Regions from separate parts of the Homo sapiens genome. Here region 1 is linked to region 2. The links are contacts of gene promoters, found by promoter capture Hi-C in blood cells and fetal thymus (Javierre and others, 2016). All regions are on one chromosome and are shown on one strand. The core of a region is centred on a gene start or on the middle of the fragment in contact, and the rest is flanking DNA. Distances in the headings are between cores, read along the strand shown.

Evidence for each region. The method cuts DNA at HindIII sites, captures the fragments that hold promoters and counts their contacts. A CHiCAGO score of 5 or more calls a contact.
Region 1: a fragment that was not itself captured here is called in contact with the fragment with the promoter of ANP32B in region 2 in 2 of 17 cell types (activated CD4 T cells and non-activated CD4 T cells); the score reaches 5.6 in activated CD4 T cells.

What each region holds. Positions count from the first base shown.
Region 1 is chr9:98,201,141-98,206,077 of GRCh38, reverse strand. It overlaps TBC1D2 (TBC1 domain family member 2), which reads left to right. Exons shown (of 13, transcript NM_001267571.2): 10 at 2,670-2,790; 11 at 4,414-4,599. Among named protein-coding and RNA genes, the nearest start is that of CORO2A, 11 kb to the right of the region's middle. RefSeq lists enhancers at 2,724-3,224, 3,848-4,347, 4,653-4,702, 4,348-4,849. The HindIII fragment of the contact is 4,410 bases long and covers 1-4,027 here.
Region 2 is chr9:97,981,398-97,986,285 of GRCh38, reverse strand. ANP32B (acidic nuclear phosphoprotein 32 family member B) reads right to left here and starts at 2,945. Exons shown (of 7, transcript NM_006401.3): 1 at 2,677-2,945. The coding sequence starts at 2,730. The region is part of intron 2 of LOC124902226 (a long non-coding RNA gene); the gene reads left to right. It overlaps LOC124902225 (a long non-coding RNA gene), which reads right to left and starts at 850. Exons shown (of 2, transcript XR_007061685.1): 1 at 765-850. RefSeq lists silencers at 1,616-1,845, 1,876-1,925, 1,936-2,135, 2,206-2,285, 2,476-2,565 and 2 more and an enhancer at 2,193-3,075. The HindIII fragment of the contact is 9,132 bases long and covers 1-3,349 here.

The DNA of each region.
Region 1 (4,937 bases), core at 573-3,072, 220 kb before region 2:
GGCAGAGGTTGCAGTGAGCCGAGATCGCACCACTGCACTCCAGCCTGGTGACAGAGCAAGACTCCATCTCGAAAAAAGAGAAAGTTACTTATAATAGAAAGCCTGTTCAAATGTGGCAAGTGCAACGTATTCTTTTGGAGGCTCTAAACCCAAGCCTGCAGGTCCCTGATACGTCTTCTTTGCCATCTAGTGGTAGCCATTAGAACTGCATGTGTGGGCCCGGCGCCGTGGCTCACGCCTGTAATTCCCGCATTTTGAGGGGCCGAGGTGGGTGGATCCCTTGAGCCCAGGAGTTTGAGACAGCCTGGACAACATGGCAAAGCCCTGTCAAAAAATACAAAAAATTAAAAAAACGAAAAACAAGAAACAACCTAACAACCTAGCCAAGTGTGGTGGCACATGCCTGTAGTTCTAGCTACTCGGGAGGCTGAGGTGATAAGGAGGCAGAGGTTGCAGTGAGCCATGATCATGCCACTGCACTCTAGCCTGGGCAACAGAGTGAGTCTCTGTCTCAAAAAAAGAAAAGAAAAGGAACTGCATGTTTGATGTCTCAAGATGACAGACCCTGCCTCTAAGGCAACAAATCCAGCTTGTTTAGTGATGGTCTAATGCTAATTTAGAGCAAATGTTTTAAACCTATGAAAATAAGTACAGTGCTCTAAAAGTGGTTTGTTTTTCCCCCATCAACACACTCCTTTCTTTGCAAGCCTACCTGGGCCCTAAATGCCTTAGGTTCGAATTCAGCCATACACCTGAGCAGTTAGTAAGCCCTAGCAACCAGCCTCAGATAACTGAGTTTTTAACATGTGCTGAAGTCTAAACCAATGCTGGCAGCTAACTCCCTAGACTGAGGCCATTCTGAGGCTCAGGGGGAACAGGGTGGGATAGAGTGGAGAGAGCACTGGGCTAGACTTTGGGAGCCCTGGGTTCTGTTTCCACTCTGCCACCAACTGACTATGTAATGTTGAGCAGGTAACTTCTGCTTTCTAAGCCTTGGTTTTTCCACCACTGCAATAAGGAGTTTGTTTAGACCAGAGATGACCAGTAGGAAGCAGCTACCTGGAGCCCTGTCCTGAGAGAGTTTCTGAGGCAGCCTTCAGACTCAGTGGGAAAGAGTACTGTGATCAATTACTTATGTCTACCATGGGCTTAGACAAAGGGAATGCTGCCATGATCAGTTAGTTATGTCTGCCCTGGGCACAGACGAAAAGGATAGAGGCCAGTGTATCTCACGTTTGCTATCCTTGAACTCAGTGACCTATGGAGGTCCCTCCCCACCAGCTCTGAGAGAACGGAGCTTCCTATTTCCCAGGAGACCTGTGACTGTTCTCTTCATCCACTCAGCTTCGACTTAGGAAGGTTTTGTACAAATATCTGAACCAAATTTGGGAGAAATTCCTTCCCAATCTACTGGGGAAAGAGAAGGGATATTTCTTTTTTCTTTTGAGATTCAACCATGTTTCTAAGAGTTGTGAGCCTCAAAAGAAGGTGGAGGTCATGAATCCAATCTAGAGAGAACCCAAAGAAGCATAAATATCTGGATGAGGGAATGTGTTCCTTAAATGCTCGTTATGACCAGAGAGTCAGAGGCTTTCTAAAGCGACATCTCTCCAGGGTCCTCTGAGGAACATTCATTCTACTAGGCCCCCATGGGTGCAATGGACAACAGGGGCTCTGTGGACCCCCTGGGCGACCCTGGGTTAGAGTCAGCCACACAGCGTTTTGTCACCACAGGACTTCTCAGAGGCTTTACTAAGACAGTGTGTGTCATAAGCCTCTCAGGGGCTAGAATGGGCAGCATTCCCCAGATATCTTTGAATATAGAACCTTGTGTTCACCTAGCATCTTGGGAGACCAGTAGTCCCTGGAAGACATTTTTGGAAAATGACTTCTTGGATTGGCCCGGGATGAGAGCTGCCAGGGAAGATGGGAGAAGTAGAGAAAACAGTACTTATCCCAGGAAGACTTCCCTGCTCAGCCCTGTGGGTTTTTGTTTGTTTCTTACCCATGATTTCATTAGAGCCTTATGCTAACTTGGCGGGGAGGGGAAGTAAAGGAGAAAAAAAGCTATGTGCATTGAGCACCTCCTAAATGCCAGGCAGTGAGCGAGGCAAGGTAGGTCTGTCTCAAGATGCCTCTTGGCCCCGGGGGGATAGATATTGTTAATCTCACTTTACAGATCATGAAACCAAGGCCCAGAGAGGTTAGTGTACTTGCCAAGGTCTCAAAGCCTGTGAATACTAAGGTGAGGATAGCTAACATTTATAAAGAGCTCACTGTGTGGCAGGCACTGTGTGGGGCACTGAATGAGCTCTGTTCATCCTCAAAATAGTCCTGTGATTATTATGAGACTGAGGCTTACAGGGGTTCAGTAACTTGCCCAAGGTCACCCAGGAAGCCACAAGATCAGGATTTACCCAAGCAGCCTGATTTCAGAGCCCCTGCTCTGAAGTGACCCCCATTGCTCTGGAAATCGCCGGTCATCCTCCCCAAAAGAGCGTTTATCTCACCCCAGGTGCCAGGAGCACAAATCTGGTTAGGGAGTGGGATTGCACTGATGCTCACATGGAAGGACTTTCCCCCTGGAACCCAGGAAGCCACCTCTGCCATGTGCTGCCTGGCAGGGCCACGGCTTCTGTAATCACTCCAGGCCTTCCCTACTACTCCAGGCTGGCGGCCATTGCCCTGCTGGTCCTAGAGGAGGAGGAGAGCGCCTTCTGGTGCCTGGTGGCCATTGTGGAGACCATCATGCCCGCTGATTACTACTGCAACACGCTGACGGCATCCCAGGTAAGTGGGGCCAGGAGGGGACTTTGCAGCCATGTAGGGCAGTGCCCCAGAGCTGTTCCTAGAAGCCTGTGACTCTCAGGAAAGTTGGGAATCTCTCGGGCTTCCATTTCTCCCTCTGCACTGTGGGAGTGCATTTGGCTGCATGGAAGAGAAGCCCAACCTAACAACAGCTTCAATCGGGGATTATTATTCTCAGATAGTGAATGACAAGGCAGTACCGCAGGGTTCAGGCTCCTAGCTCCCTGCTCTGCCATCTCTGGCAGGTGGCCTTCATCCTCACACCCATCACCTCCTGGTCACAAAATGGCTGCATCGCCTCCAGCACTGTGGGCATGGCCTAGGCCAGGAGAAGCAGAAGGTGAACACCAGGAGCTGGCTCCCTGACCCAGCAATTTCTACTTGCAGTTTACTGGTCAGAACTATTTCATGGCTGCCCTAGTTGCAAGGCAAGTTAGGAAATGTACATATTTAATTTTTACATCTTAACATCTCTGAAATTGATGTGTGTTATATGACCCTTTTTTCCATATTTTATTATGGAAAATTTCCCACATTCAAAACGATAGAGGGAATAGTATAATGAACCTCCATGTGTCCATTACCTGGCTTCAGTTATCAACCCAGGGAGCCAGTGTTATTTCTTCTGAACTCCCATCCGCTCCTCCTGCTTTGTCTTGAAGTAAATTTCTGGCATTGTATCAGTTCATCCATAAATCCTTCAGTAGGTCAATGGCATCTTAGACTTGGGGAGTTACCTTAGGTTTTGAACTGGACACTTGGCCTCGGTAGATGACCCAAGGTTCTGGGTGAGGGAGGAGGGGAGCTACTGGCTGTTTGCCACAGCTGACGCTAATGCCTGGAAGAGGACATAAGTGAGAGGAGAGGACTGAGCAGTTCCAGGAAAAGCAAGGGGAAACTGAAATGGAGTCATCACAGAGGGAGGAGGAGAACCACGAAAGAACCATGTCTTGGAGCCAGTGCTGAGAGTGGTTAACCCATCCAGTGAAACAAGGACGGAGGCATGACAGTGGTCACAAGAAGAGGTCACTGGCCAGTGTCGCCAGGAGCACCCTGTTTTGAGAAGATTCCTTGATGTCCGGCGAGGCAGGACATTATGCGTTCCCACACACACCTGTCCCTGGACCAGACATCCGCCTAGCATCTTAGGTGTCAGGCACAAATTGGGTATAGAGAAGGGGCTGTGGTTGTCAGCTGATATAAGCCTAGAGACAAAGCTTCCATTTCGCCAAGGCCCCTGGGCATGAGACCAGTGTCTCTGAACTGCCAGCAGGATCAGCTGGCCCCTGACCTCCTGCTTGGCTCAAGGGATTCAGATGGGTGAGCGGGCGGAGAACGTGCCAGCCCACATGGCTCCACTGCAGAGCCCAGTGCCCCAGTCCAGAGGACTCTGGCCTATATTAGGAGCAGCGGAGTGATATGATGCTGTACCTGACTCCCAGCTAGACTGGCCCCTGGCTCCCCGAGGTGTCTCCTGGGCAGGAAAGGACCTGCCCAGAGCAGCTTCAGGATTGTGTGTGGACTGACTGGGTAGGAAGGCTGGGCAGGGAGGGAGGCAGCCCTACGCTGGGGCTGCAGATGACAGGCCCTCTCGCTGGCTTCCAGGTGGACCAGCGGGTGCTCCAGGACCTGCTCTCGGAGAAGCTGCCCAGGCTGATGGCCCATCTGGGGCAGCACCACGTGGATCTCTCCCTCGTCACCTTCAACTGGTTCCTCGTGGTCTTTGCGGACAGTCTCATTAGCAACATCCTCCTTCGGGTCTGGGATGCCTTCCTGTACGAGGGGACGAAGGTAGGGTGCAGCCAGGGGATGGGCAGGGGGCCCCTGAGCAAGTCCCTTCACCCATCTGCGTCTTGACTCTGCCCCTGGAGAATGGGAAGACAATGCTTACTTGTCAGAGCTGTTGAACGTCTCCTGAGAGCATTGTCAACTGCAAAATGCTTTGCATGTATGAGAAGTAGTGGTTCTGCCTCTGAAGTTGGGGGATTTCCTTTCCGTGGAGAGGAGGTGTGAGCATGATCAGAGAGGCACATCCCTATGCTGTCCTTGCCCCCTAGTCACCTGGGCCCTCCTTTTCTTCCTCCTGTTTGGACTAAACCTTGGATTAAGAGATCGGAGCTCAGGTCTGG
Region 2 (4,888 bases), core at 1,696-4,195:
CTGCAGGCCAGTGCTGCCTAACGCAGCACCCACGAGCCACTTGTCACGTCTGAGCACTTGAAATGTGGATAGTATTACAGAGAAAATGTTTTAATTTAACTGAATTAAATGGCTCTGGCCTGACTGGCAAGAAGGTTAAGCTGATTACTTGAAAAATGAACTGGTGGCCGGGGGCGGTGGCTCACGCCTGTAATCCCAGCACTTTGGGAGGCCGAGGCGGGTGGATCACCCGAGGTCAGGAGTTGGAGACCAGCCTGAACAACAGGGAGAAACCCCGCCTCTACTAAAAATACAAAATTAGCCGAGCATGGTGGCGCATGCCTGTAATCCCAGCTACGCGGGAGGTTGAGGCAGGAGAATCGCTTGAACCCGGTAAGCGGAGGCTGAGGTGAGCCGAGATAGTGCCATTGCACTCCAGCCTGGGCAAGAGAGAGACTCAGTCTCAAAAAAAAAAGAAAAACAGAAAAAAGAAAAATGAACACCTGTAGATATACATGTGTTTTTAAAGCAATATTACTTCATATATGAAAACATCCTCTAAGGGGAACAGCAGACCAACTGTGTTTCCCAGAGGGAACACTACTCTTGAGAATTTTAAAAGACCTTTAGTTTGAGCATATCCTAAAGAATTCAAATTCTAGATTTTAACGCATTTCTGAAGACCCACGTGTGTACTTCTCTTGCGGGCACTTTGGCTAATTTTAGCTACTCCATATTCTACGGATTTGCAATTACGCCGCAATGGAAAAGTCTGGAATAAACACCTTCTCAAGCCAAGAAAGCCTCTCAAGTTTTGAGGCGCGAGCTGGGCGATAGGCTAGCACGTGGCGGGCACAAAATGTCTGACGGAAGGTCGGAAGAACGCACGCCCGCGACCCTCCATCTCGCAACCCCCGGAGCGGCCCACCCTCGCGGGCCCTCCGGGAAGGACAGCGCCGTGCGGTGGAGCCCGGCCCGCCCCGCGTTAGTGGTGACCTCAAAGACTAGAGAGCAAGGATTTAAAATGTCGAGCACACCAGGTAAACCCTGGTCGACGAATTCCCACAAGTTCGCGACTTGTTAACCACAGCCACCTGAGGGCACGAAACCTGGCCGCTCGCTTAGCCCAGAGCGGGTCGGGAGGCCCCGCGGGGCCGCCCTCCGCGGGAAAGCCACTGGCCCGCTGGGGCACCCGGCCGCGGCGCTAACTGGCCCGCGCCGGTCCGCGGCGGGGGGGGGGCTCGCGACGGCGGGCAGCCGCGCTAAACCCGGGAGACGAATGGGGCAATTCCCACAGGTCGGACCCACGCCCACGCAGCCGCGCCGCAAGAGGGCCGCCCTCAGGCCCCTACAGCCCGCAAGGCGCGCGGCCGACCGCACCAGGCCGCTCTCAAGCACGTGGGAGGCCAGAGGCCGCCCGGCCCACGAGCCGAGCCGAAGCCCGCCCAAAATCCCGCGCGCCCGGCGCGGGGCGGGGGCGGCCGCCTGCCGTTGCCCTTTTAAGAAGGGGGAGGGGGTCGGCAGCGCGCCCGCGACGGGATGAGTCGGCGGCGGCCGCGGCGCGCGGCTCCCGCCAGTGGGAGCCAAGCCCCGGCGGGGCGGGGGGAAACAGACCGAGGGCTCGGCGCGGGAAGAGGCGGCCGCCAGCCAGCGCCGAGGGCGGGCGGGCAAGGCCAAGCTCGTGGGCCGGCTCACCAGGCGCAGGGAGACGGGCACCCGCCAACATGGCGCTGCGGCGGCCTGTGGCGCGCCCCGGCTGGCGTGAAGAGCCGCCGCCCGCCCACACGGAGGGGCCAGCCTCCCGGGGCAAGGGCAGGGGCCCCGGGCGCCGCCGCCGCGGCACAGGGGGAAGGGCGAGGCCGTCGCCACAACGGTTGGCCTTGGTCGACCCGGGCTGCCCCTGGGAGGCAGGAGTGGGCAAGGCCGAGGGCGAAGAGGGAGCGAGAGAACGGGGGAGAAAGTTTTATTTTTGGGCTTGAAAAATGGCGGGAACCACGTCCTTTTTTCAAACTTGGCCTCGGGAGGGGCGGCGGTTGCGCCACCTCCGCCGCCCTGGCCCGCCCCTCCCCCGCTCCGCGCGCCGGGCCGCGCCCGCCCAGGCCTCCAGGCGCCCGAGGGGGCTTCTCGCTCCCTTCAAAAGAAAAAAGCCCCCTCCTCGCCCCACGACTGCTGACCTCGGCCGGGCCGGCGCCCACGGCGAGCTCCGGCCACAAGAGCCCCCGTCCCGCCCCACCCGCGCCCCTTCCCCGGCCGGCCCGGGGCGCGCGGAGCCCGGCCTGGCCCAGGCGGGGATGGCCGCGCAGCTCCTCGGCAGGCCGGGCCTCCGCCCGGCCGCGCATCCCGGGAGGCTGCAAACATGGCTCCCAGCGTTACACAACCCCCGCCTCCCTCTCTCGCCGCCGGCCACTTGCACACGCGCTCCCTCAGGGGAAAGACCCCGGCGGGCGAAGCGCTCAAAGTTTGCTTTCCCCCACACCGCTGCCTCCCCCCGGCCGCCCCAGGGGCCCGCGGGCGGCAAAGAGTTAATCCTCGCGCGCTCGCTCCCCCCTCCGCGCCCGCCCGCCTTCCCCGTCCGAGCCCACGAGCTGCGCTCTTCCCCGCGCCGGGGCCGGCGAACCCTCAGCCCGGGCCCCGCAGGTGGCCACCATTACATGCAAGTCATCGGGGGAGAGGGCACCCAGAGGGGTCTCTGCTTACAGCTGCCGGGGTCCGGTTCCTCAGCTCCAGGTGGATCCTCCTCTTCATGTCCATGTTCCCCTCTTCCCCCCTCTTCAAACTTAACTTTCCGCGGCGGGGGCGGAGGGGGGAGAGGCGTCCCGGCTTGCGCAGCGAGGGCCGTCGGAAGGGTTTGCTAGCGGCGGAGGCCGGCGGCGCGGTCCTGGGTGGCGGGCGGCGTGCGGGCAGGCGAGCGGAGCCCCCGGAGCCAAGTTACTCACGGGAGCGGAGAGAAACCATGGAGGGAAAAGGGGGCTGGAGCGCAGCGCTGGGCTCACTACCGCCGCCCCCGGCCGCGGCCTGCACTGCGCTTAAACCGGCGACGCGGCGCGGCAGCTGCTCGGCTCCACTCGGCCCCGCGCGGCGCTGCTCGGCTCGGCGGCCGCGGCTGCACCAAGGCGGGGCGGGGAGACTCGCGGCGGGCGGGGCGGAGGCTGGGGAAAGGCGCAGCCCGAATAGAGGAGCGACTTCCTCCCTCTCTCCGATTGCACGTGGGGCGGCTGATGTAAGACCTTTCTCGTGGGTGGGGGGGCTTCCCCGCCCCCCGGCCCCCGCCGCGCTGAGACTCCTTCTACCTCCGGCCCCACGTCGTCGCGCCCGGAGCTGGGCTTGCGGCCCGGGCTGGGAGGTTCGCGGGAAGGGTTGGTGGGAAGCTTTGCAGTCCGGCTGCGGGGGTCCCTAAAACCCAGTCCATCCGGGGAGGCTCACGGGGGCGGCCCGACGCCCGCGGAGGCGCGAGATGTGAAGAAGCCGGGGACAGGCTTTGACGTTCACCTTTTGCCTGCCACACAGTCTGGGGCCAACAGGCCGAACCCCGCTGCCTCCTTGGCAGACTGGCGTCCGTAGTGCCGCCGAGGATCCCCCCCGTCGGGACGGAATCGCGGCCGACCGGCCCTGGCAGGGCAGCTGGGGTCGCTTGCTAAGCCACAGAGCAGCCGAGCATCCCCACCCTGTTCAGGAGAGTCTCCCTCGGTTTTCTAACATTTTAATAGGAGCTAGAGAAGGAAACGATTAGCATTTCTAATAGGGCCTCAGGGTTTCCCCGCAGACTTTTTTTTTTAATCTCATTTATTCCTTAGGGCACCCCTGTGAAGTGTGTAAATTCTTGGTGGTCTAAGTTTCGCTGAAACCTGGCAGGCAGCCTTTGTCATGGTCTGGCCCAAAGGGTCCCAGGGGTTAGAGCACCAGATCGGGATGAGTGTTGTGCTTTGCAGAACACCGGGGAATGACGTTATATTCAGCGTACAATAAGTAAATACATAATGTGTCAAATCAAATACAATCTAAGAAGATCGTACTGACAAGAAGCACCAAAAACTAAGAACAATTTGTTAAAGAAAAACTTGAAATTCTATGTATTAACATGAAGTTTTATGGAAGTTAAGAAAGTGCCCCCTTTCCTATTTTACCTAAGTTTTAGTGGCAAACAACCCAAATTTAGTTGTAAACCAATTATATATCAGCTTTTAAAATACTGAGTGAGTTAACATTTGAAGATGAAAGTTTTAGAAGGAATATGGGAAAAGAAAAACTTTCTGGTAGTAGTTCCCTGACTCCGTTTGTAGTCTCAGCAGACGTCTTTATGACAAGGGAAAATGGAGACAGATGTTCTCAGGGTTACAAAAGGTCTGTAACTAAGGTTATGAGAACCACAGGGCTATGCAATGAGGGCTTTTACCAAACAAAACAAAACAAAACAAAAAATCGGTTTCATGAGCCAACAAGCGATTATTGAGGATCTGCTTTAAGGGGCTTGATATTATTTCTCTAATTCTCAGACAACTTTCTGAAGTAGGTGATAATTTAATCATTTTACAGATGAGGAGCTCAGGAATCTTAAGCTGCACGTCCAGCAAGAAGCAGAGCTAGGATTTACACCCAGATAGGTCTGACTCCACAGCCCACCATCTTGTGCTACATCATCAGTCTGGCTAGAGTGGAGTCATAGCATGGTGGGGGGCTACTTTGGTGCTGTAGGTTGGGAACAGTTGCAGAGGGCTTTTAATACCAAACAGCATGCAAGTGTCCTCGTGCAGGAAAAGGGGGGATGGTGCTGAAGGAGTCTTAAACGTGGTAGCTCTGTGCTAGAGAGTGGTAACCTGATGGCTCCCGGAGGAGGTGGTATTAATCCTTAGCATCAGGGCAAATCTTGAGACTCTGTCCTCTCTTTATGGCCAACTGGAGGGTATGAAGG